3 separate regions of the Homo sapiens genome follow, and all the other regions are linked to region 2. Evidence: promoter capture Hi-C in 16 types of primary human blood cells and fetal thymus (Javierre and others, 2016). All regions are on one chromosome and are shown on one strand. The core of a region is centred on a gene start or on the middle of the fragment in contact, and the rest is flanking DNA. Distances in the headings are between cores, read along the strand shown. Region 1 has its middle 58 kb from the start of COL14A1. Region 2 holds the start of TAF2 (TATA-box binding protein associated factor 2). Region 3 overlaps ENPP2 (ectonucleotide pyrophosphatase/phosphodiesterase 2).

Region 1 (2,700 bases), core at 106-2,605, 230 kb before region 2:
GAAGTGTAGCTCTTTCAGTCTCGGAAGTGCCCCAGGTGGATGATAAATTATTTAATCATTGTTCCTGTTGCAATGTGGTTAACTAAAGCAATACAGCCTTTTTCTTTTCTCTTAAAACTGGTTCAAGCTGGTTTTCTGTCACTTGCAAGCAAGAAACATTATGACTGATCTACCACTCTTTTCTGAATTAATCAGGCAATCTTTTCCACAGTACACCTTCTGAATCTGATTGCTTGCATTCTTGCTTGAATTCTTTGGCAGATGCCTGATTCTGTGTCTGGTGCTTGGTCTCCACTTCCTCTGTGGAATTGATACCGTGGGCTCTTCCAAGCTTACTCAACCACCTTGTCCTAATCATGAGTTATTTACTCCCTACGTCACGAAAGGCCACTATAGTCCACAGATTTCATCCAAAAGCTCTAGGACCATGCTCAGAGAGGAAAGCAACCAAGACAGGCCTGGGGAACCACCTGGGTGAATAAACTTCAACTCTTTTCTATACCTTTATATTCTTCTGCTCAAAATTCAAAGTCCTGGAAGGGAATGTTAATTGGTATAGCTTGGGTATGGGACTCATTTTCACTAGGAGAGACTGGGGCACCATGATAGATATCTCACAAGAACCACACAAAATGAAGGAAAGGCAATTTACTCCCAAAATACAGGTTTAGCAAAAGAATAGGAATAGGTACTGGGGGATCGAAAAATATATTCAACAATGTGCATTTAATAATTCAATAGTATAGGCAGCTATTTGTATGTCTATACCATTGAGAGCTGAGTGAACAATTAAAATACATATGATTGGTGCTCAGAAGAATTGGGGTTGATCTTTCTGGAATAACCAAGAATCCCAAATATGATCACCCCAAGTGATAATTTACCTAGTCTTGATCTATTGGACATTTCCACTCTTCATAGTCATGGCAAAGACATTTTGGGCTAGTATTTGTAGGAAGTTTTGGTGGTTTCTCTGATATCCTCATCCCTTGTCTCAAGTCTACCCTGTTGGGTCCTCTCTATCCTGGTGGCCCCCTTAACCCACATCAGATGAAAGCTGGCTTCTAGCATCCTCCTATGGTTCAGTCTCCAGCTTGAGCCCTTTTCCTAGTGTAAATTCTGTGGCTCTATGCTTCTGCCCTATTCTCTTCTTTTGACTTCTGACCTCATGATTTGTTTTCCTATTTACAGCACATCTCACTGCTCTGACCCTCCAGCACTCCCTCTAGAGCTTCATACTGTGGTTCTGTAATTTCCCAACATCCTTAATCTGTAAAAGCCCAAGGCTAATACATTATTCAATCCTGAGTCCTTGTACCTTAGCATTGATCCTTGCAGGAGGCACCTTCAGTGCTTCGCCCTAAGCTGATGAAAAATGTAGTGAACAAAAGTACTGGTCCTGAAGTCAGAAACACCTGATTCATGTTCCAGGTCTGCCATCATCGTCGCTGTGTAAACCTGGGAGTTAGTCTTTCAGCAGAATAATGCCCTGTAGCTTTCCAGAAACTCTGCACACAGTTTTGCAGATTTGTTTTTGTTGTTGTTTTTTTCTTGTTTGTGTTTTTTTTAAGACGAAGTCTCACTCTGTTGCCCAGGCTGGAGTGCAGTGGCATGATCTCAGCTCACTGCAACCTCTGCCTCCAGGATTTAAGTGATTCTCCCACCTCAGCCTCTGAGTAGCTGAGATTACAGGTATGCATCACCACGCCCACCTAATTATTGTATTTTTAGTAGAGACATGGTTTCACCATGTGGGCCAGGCTGGTCTCAACTCCTGGCCTCAAGTGATCCGCTTGCCTCAGCCTCCCAAAGTGTTGGGATTACAGATGTGAGCGACAGCGCCCGGCCCCTTTCCATTTTTCATTTTGTCTCCTAATGTATTTCCACCAAATGCATTGTGTAGATTATGCTTTTTGGCTCTATCTCCAATTCAGGTCCAATACCAGCACCTGGACTTGCTTCTGGATATATCTTTCTGCTGCCCGGGTGCTGACTTTTGGCTGTCTTTCCCATCTGTCATCCTACAGGAATCCACCAGCAGATACAGCCTCTCCAAATGAGCTCCACAGTGCTGCTTCCATTGTACAGTTTTGCCCCCACACTCATATTTATGCTTGTCCCCAGTGTAGCCAGCATCTCAGAGACCCCCATTGTAGCCAGCATCCCATAGAGAGAGCTCAGCATTCAATGAGCGCTGGAAGAGGCTGCCAGAAGCTGATAAGGAGACGTAACAGATTGTGAGTAAAAATGGGGAAGGAAACAGTAAAAGACAGGCAAAGTCAGTTGGTGGTCATGGAGAACAAACGGCAAGGAGATCAAAAGGAAATAGCCTTGCACTTTAACTCCTAGTCAGCATGAATTTTTAAAAAGGGAAGCTTTACGTGAACTTAATCTAGAGTCTAGACATTAACTGTAAAGAAATGTTTCCACCAAAAAAAGGAGGGTATTGAATGAGAACTTGTATTTTTATTTTTTGTGGTAGAATTCTTTTTGGGGTGGCAGGGGTTAGGAGCGGGGGCAAATGAGAGGCAGTCTCTGTTCACGCAAGGAGGGGTGTCAGCCCTTACAGACCCTCCGATTGACCTCACCAGAGTTGCCAGATGAACCAAGGCATGCTTTGTTTCTGGACTTAATCTTTTTCATATTAAGAGGTTTACATCATCCAAAGTCATCCATGATGTAGTTGATGTGAACAGAAGC
Region 2 (2,706 bases), core at 72-2,571:
CTCATCACCAGGACAGTTGGAGGGGGTAGGCCGAGGTTAAATGGTCCACGTTTCAAAAATGTTAATGGCTAATCCATAATTAAAGAAGGTTTAACTGTTACTGAAGTTTACAAGTTTTATTGTCATGAACATGAAATACAAACACGATGGCTTCGAAATGTCTTTCAATAAATGTTTCTGCATTTATATGGATTATATGATATATATACACAGTCTATATATCTCTATGTAGTCTATTTATTTATTTTGAGAGGGAGTCTCGCTTTGTCTCCCAGACTGGAGTGCAATGGCATGATCTCAGCTCACTGCAAACTCGGCTTCCCGAGTTCAGGTGATTCTGGTGCCTCACCCTCCCGAGTGGCTGGGAATACAGGCGCACGCCACGACGCAGGGCTAATTTTTGTATTTTTACTAGAGACGGGCTTTCACCATGTTGGCCAGGCTGGTCTTGAACTGCTGACCTCAAGTGATATGACTGCCTCAGTTTCCCTAAGTGCTAGGATTACAGGCGTGAGCCACCACGCCTGGCCTGTAGTCTATATTTTATTCTTTTTTTTTTTTTCTGAGACAGTCTCAGCTCTGTCGCCCAGGCTGGAGTGCAGTGGAACGATCTCAGCTCGCTGCAACTTCCGTCTCCCAGGTTCAAGCAATTCTCCTGCCCCAGCCTCCCAAGTAGCTGGGATTACAGGCGTGCACCACCACGCCCAGCTAATTTTGTGTAATTTTTAGTAGAGACGGGGTTTCACCATGTTGGTCAGGCTGGTCTCGAACTCCTGACCTCAAATGATCGGCCCGCCTCGGCCTCCCAAAGTGTTGGGATTACAGGAGTGAGCCACTGCGCCCGGCCTTGTAATCTATATTTTAAAATAAATACTAAGGCAGCAGTGCCTAGTGAGAGCTGTGGAGTGCTGCAGTTTTGACATTTAGACTACCTGCAGTCTAATCACATATTTTACAGCTTAAATCACCGGACCCAGTGTGTCTGTTCACACAGCAAGCCAGAGGCACGCACCTCCTGATTTCGGGAGACTTCCCACCACCCCACCCCGCCCAGTTACTAGCACCCTGCCCCAGCCTATTTATACCTGGCTCTTCGCAAACTTTGTCCTCCATTCTTCTCAATATGCTTGTACTAGAAAACTACCTTCCCTCCTTTTCTTCCTGCTGTTCTCGCTTCATCCATTAAATAGTTTTTTCCCTATCCTAAATTTTAACAATTCTTTACGATAAGACACATGCGAAGATCGCAAGCCCTGCCCATTGACAAGACTTCCTGGTTCTACCCCCGCCGCCGTTCCACTTCCGCTGACGTCGGAGGTCAGAGGTTACAGACAAGATGTCGGCGGATGGTAGCTTCGAGCCCTTGCGGAGAGGAGCATCTCTGTGACAGAAGCTTGTCGACGGCGGCTTCTAGGAGCTAGTCGAAGGAGCGAGGTTGAGGCGGGCAGCGACCCGTCAGGTCGCTCACCTGGGCACCGGCCAGCTGCGAGACGTGACTTGGGGACCGCAGGGGAGTGGAGAGTGTGAGGTGCCAAAGACTAGTAATGCCCCGTATCCCCCTAGGAAGCCGGGAAGCCAAGCTCCGCGGGACCGCTTCATGCCGCTGACTGGTGTAGAGCCCGCCAGAATGAACAGGAAGAAAGGAGACAAGGGCTTTGAAAGCCCAAGGCCATATAAATTATAAGTATTTTTTCATTTCCCTTCCTTCCTTTTGGTTTTGTTGCCATTAATTATATTTTGCGATTGCTTGAAATTGACTTGGTGGGCCTGGGAAACCTAGTGGGAAACTAGAATTTACTCACTGTGATGGAAATGGTGTTTGTAAGGTAAAAATGTTTTGAATGACAGGTTATTCAGCAAATTTAATTCCCGTTGCAAGTTACTAAAGTTTTTGTCTAAGTACTAGATTGTATTTCTGTCAAATCTGTTTTCGTGACTGTTGCTAGATTTTAAAAAATTATCCCAATTGGTAGAGTGTTTTTTTTTTTTTAATTTTTTAATTTTTAAGACGGAGTCTCTCAGTCGCCCAGGCTGGAGTGCAACGGCGCGATCTCGGCTCACTGCAGCCTCCACCTGCCGGGTTCAAGCTTTTCTCCTGGCTCAGCCTCCTGAGTAGCCGGGATTACAGGCGTGTGCCACGATGCCCGGCTAACTTTTGTATTTTTAGTAGAGACTCGGTTTCACTCTGTTGGCCAGGCTGGTCTCGAACTCTTGACCTCGTGATCCGCTTGCCGTGGCCTCCCAAAGTGCTGGGATTACAGGCGTGAGCCACCGCACCAGGCCCCAATTCGTAGTTTTAAAATGAAATATTGACATGTAATTTTGAATTACTTAGAACATAGTCCTAATTTATACTTGGATAGAATTATACTTTGATTTAATAATAAAAATTATTTTTTCCTTATTTTCTTTTTATATTTATTAATATACAACCCATCAGGTCGTCTGCATCAACAACATAAATTTCCAGAGAAAATCTGTTGTGGTAAGTTTATTCTCAACAATTATAAATAGTAACAAGTCCACTATAAAGAGTAACAATCCACCCCTCACAGTACTTAGAAAGTTTGTAGTCTTCCAGATAATTGTGTTTCAAGAATAGGTAAGAATTAAAATTAGGGTCTGTATGATTACAAGTTCCATGGTCCTTCTATTAATACCTATTGCCTCCCAAATTCTCCCTTTCCTTTTTTTTCAATTTCCTAA
Region 3 (2,710 bases), core at 202-2,701, 200 kb after region 2:
TCGTCTTCTGTTGGGGAGGCAGAGGACAGTGGATCACTGAGCTAGAGAATGCTGTTTTTATTTGCAGCAAATGCTCTCTTCAAAGGCCTCTTTTTCACTCCCATTAACACTGACTGTGACTGAACAGACAGGGGAATCAGATCCTTAGCATGGTCATGTGGGAAAGCTAGCAACTTGAGAGCCAACTGCTGGTTCTTTTCAATGAACACTAAAGGGAACTTTTTTTTTCTGTTTCCTCTTAATATATTACTCTGGCTAAAACTGAGATTGAAAGAATTAAATGCTGTTTCCTTAATGAATGTAAAATTGAGTCACTCATTATTTTTAAAGGTGACTTCTTTTGGAAAACAGTCATTAAAATCCTAGGCTGGTACCCTGGAGTCCTGTAACTTGCTGTGTGGTGTTGGGCAAGTCACTTGTGAAGTCTGTTTCCTTAGCTGTACAATGAGGAGCAGACTTAGATGATTTCTACTTTTCTTTCTGGATTAAAAAAAAAAAATCCCAGGAATTATTCTGTTTCATTGCCTCTTGAATTTCTGTGCTCACTACTGGAAAACTTGAAAAGTATAGATTGGATTTATTAGTCTTTGAAAATATTTTGTGTATAGTAAATTATTTCCATGTTATAAGAATAGCTATATGAACTAATGAATAAATGCCACTTCTAGAAAAGTAGTATGGTCTATATTATAATTTATAAACCTAAATGGTCTTAAGTGGGCTACACGAATTTGCTCCTTGAATTATTTAATTAAGTCGTTGGTTATTTTAGGCCTTTATGATATCATCTAAAATAATTTATTAAACTTCTAACCACGTGAAGCTTAGTCTTAGAATACAATGCAACCTAACTCTGAATTTTATGGTTTGGATATGCCTGAATAATTTTTCTTTTGATGTAGCTTATGTGCTTTTTAGGAACTGTGGTTGATTTCTCCTGAATAAAAATCAAGGATGTACTTAGTAAACTAGGTAAAAGCATCCTGTAGACAGTGGAAATATCTTTATGCGTTTAAATGCTGCATATGCTTAGAAAGGATCTCTCTCGATTGACACATGTGACTGGTTATTCTGACCATTAGAAAAGCCTTCCCATCAGAAAATACTGGGTGAATTTTATAAGCCTGTAAGAATAAGACACTAGGTGGGGAGGAGGCAGCCATGCCTATTTCCAACAACATTTTTAGGCGCCAAAGAAATCCTGGGAAGCTCAGTGCTCCAAGGGTGCAACAAATAGAAGGAACACAAAGGGTATTGATATATGGCTAGCTTCGGATTGATCAGAGTGAGATCCACCATTCAAAAGCATGCAGTTGTTTAGTAACCATAGCTTCTCAGAGTCCTCAACAATAGCTGAGAATGTTCTGTACACATGGATGCCCTCGCTGCTGTACTATGGACTGGGGTGTTAGTTTCAAGGTTGTGGCAGTGCAAACAGACTGTCATAATTAATTAACTAACACACTTGTTACCTGGATTTATTGTTAGCGTAGGAAATAATGGCTGAACAGGATTTTTTATACCAGGTCATAAAAGATTTATAGATTTATTAGGAGATATGAAATGAGAAAAGCTACTTATAATTCTGTTGGGTAAATACAATGGGCATTCAGGTTAATGAGACGGTGAGATGGGTGGAATAAATTTTCTAAGAAAATATAAGCCATAACTGTGATTTAGTTTGACATCTTTTTCTCATATGTCTGATGTGGCCCACTTGATTTGCCTTTAAGACTGCAAGAGACTTTATATGTCTACAGGTGTCTGTGCACTCATGTGCACTTGCAGTGTGTATGTTTGTGGTGTTATGCAGGAGTCTATTTTATTGAAACTTGTGATTTAGAAACTGTCTCCAGGTGGAAATAGAATATCCTCTTTGATATGTAAGTAATTTAATTCTTAAAAGACAAAAGGAAATTTGTGAGCTTGTGAATAGCTGGCTAACAGAGACTTAAAAGCTCAGTTTAATTCATCATTGTTTTTAGTGGCTTGAAAGGAAAGTTGAAAAGTATGTGAATGAAATTCATAGGTTCATATGAAATGTAGACTGTCACTAACAACTTTATGGATAAAGCTTTTCTTTGAGAATCATAGGGAAATCAGAAAATGGAACTAGAAGTGAGAAGGTTTATGTTCATTTGATAATTTTAGAAATTTTGCTCTGCAATGAAAAGCTATTTAAATGTTGGCATGGGAGAATGCAGGAAACTGTAAAGGGGACGTAGATCAGCCATTTGCTCTGTGAGCAAAACTCGGTCATTAGGATTATCCTGTCATGGGGCTTTATGTGAAATTTCAGGTAGAAATTGGGGAGTTTGAGTCAATGGAATGAAATTATCTGAACTGGAAGCTAAGGAGGGTACAGATTTTTCAGTTCTTTGTTAAATGGGGCTGTAGTGTAGTGATTTTTCATCTATCTGAAAACTGTAGAGACTCCTCTATCTAGTTTACATACTCAGAAATCTCAGTCTTCCATGAACTTCAGCCTAGATTTTTGAATCAATAAAATCAGCAAATCTTCCCCAAAATTATATTTTGAAAAGAACTTCTAAAATTTGAAAACTATGTACAAAAGTTTGAAAAACCTTTCATTAATGAAAAAAATACTGTAGTTACAGTGAGATGATCTAAAATTTTATCCAGGCCTTGGCTAACTCATACAAGGCCTAGAGATCTAATTTTCCAACCAGGAAAATGGGGATAAAGTCGC

The links. Contacts are between HindIII fragments. The CHiCAGO score rates a contact against its expected background, and 5 or more counts as called.
Region 1: a contact is called between a fragment that was not itself captured here and the fragment with the promoter of TAF2 in region 2, in 4 of 17 cell types (monocytes, megakaryocytes, fetal thymus and 1 more). The highest score is 9.7, in monocytes.
Region 3: a contact is called between a fragment that was not itself captured here and the fragment with the promoter of TAF2 in region 2, in 1 of 17 cell types (fetal thymus). The highest score is 5.6, in fetal thymus.

What each region holds. Positions count from the first base shown.
Region 1 is chr8:120,065,603-120,068,302 of GRCh38, reverse strand. No RefSeq gene overlaps it. Among named protein-coding and RNA genes, the nearest start is that of COL14A1, 58 kb to the left of the region's middle. The HindIII fragment of the contact is 2,044 bases long and covers 334-2,377 here.
Region 2 is chr8:119,831,456-119,834,161 of GRCh38, reverse strand. It overlaps TAF2 (TATA-box binding protein associated factor 2), which reads left to right and starts at 1,321. Exons shown (of 26, transcript NM_003184.4): 1 at 1,321-1,680; 2 at 2,431-2,485. The coding sequence starts at 1,598. DSCC1 (DNA replication and sister chromatid cohesion 1) reads left to right here. Exons shown (of 9, transcript NM_024094.3): 9 at 1-186. It overlaps LOC105375728 (a long non-coding RNA gene), which reads right to left and starts at 1,283. Exons shown (of 4, transcript XR_928590.3): 1 at 1,086-1,283. RefSeq lists enhancers at 1,200-1,559, 1,620-1,669. The HindIII fragment of the contact is 3,868 bases long and covers 1-1,395 here.
Region 3 is chr8:119,634,572-119,637,281 of GRCh38, reverse strand. The region is part of intron 2 of ENPP2 (ectonucleotide pyrophosphatase/phosphodiesterase 2); the gene reads left to right. Among named protein-coding and RNA genes, the nearest start is that of ENPP2, 2.9 kb to the left of the region's middle. The HindIII fragment of the contact is 1,251 bases long and covers 826-2,076 here.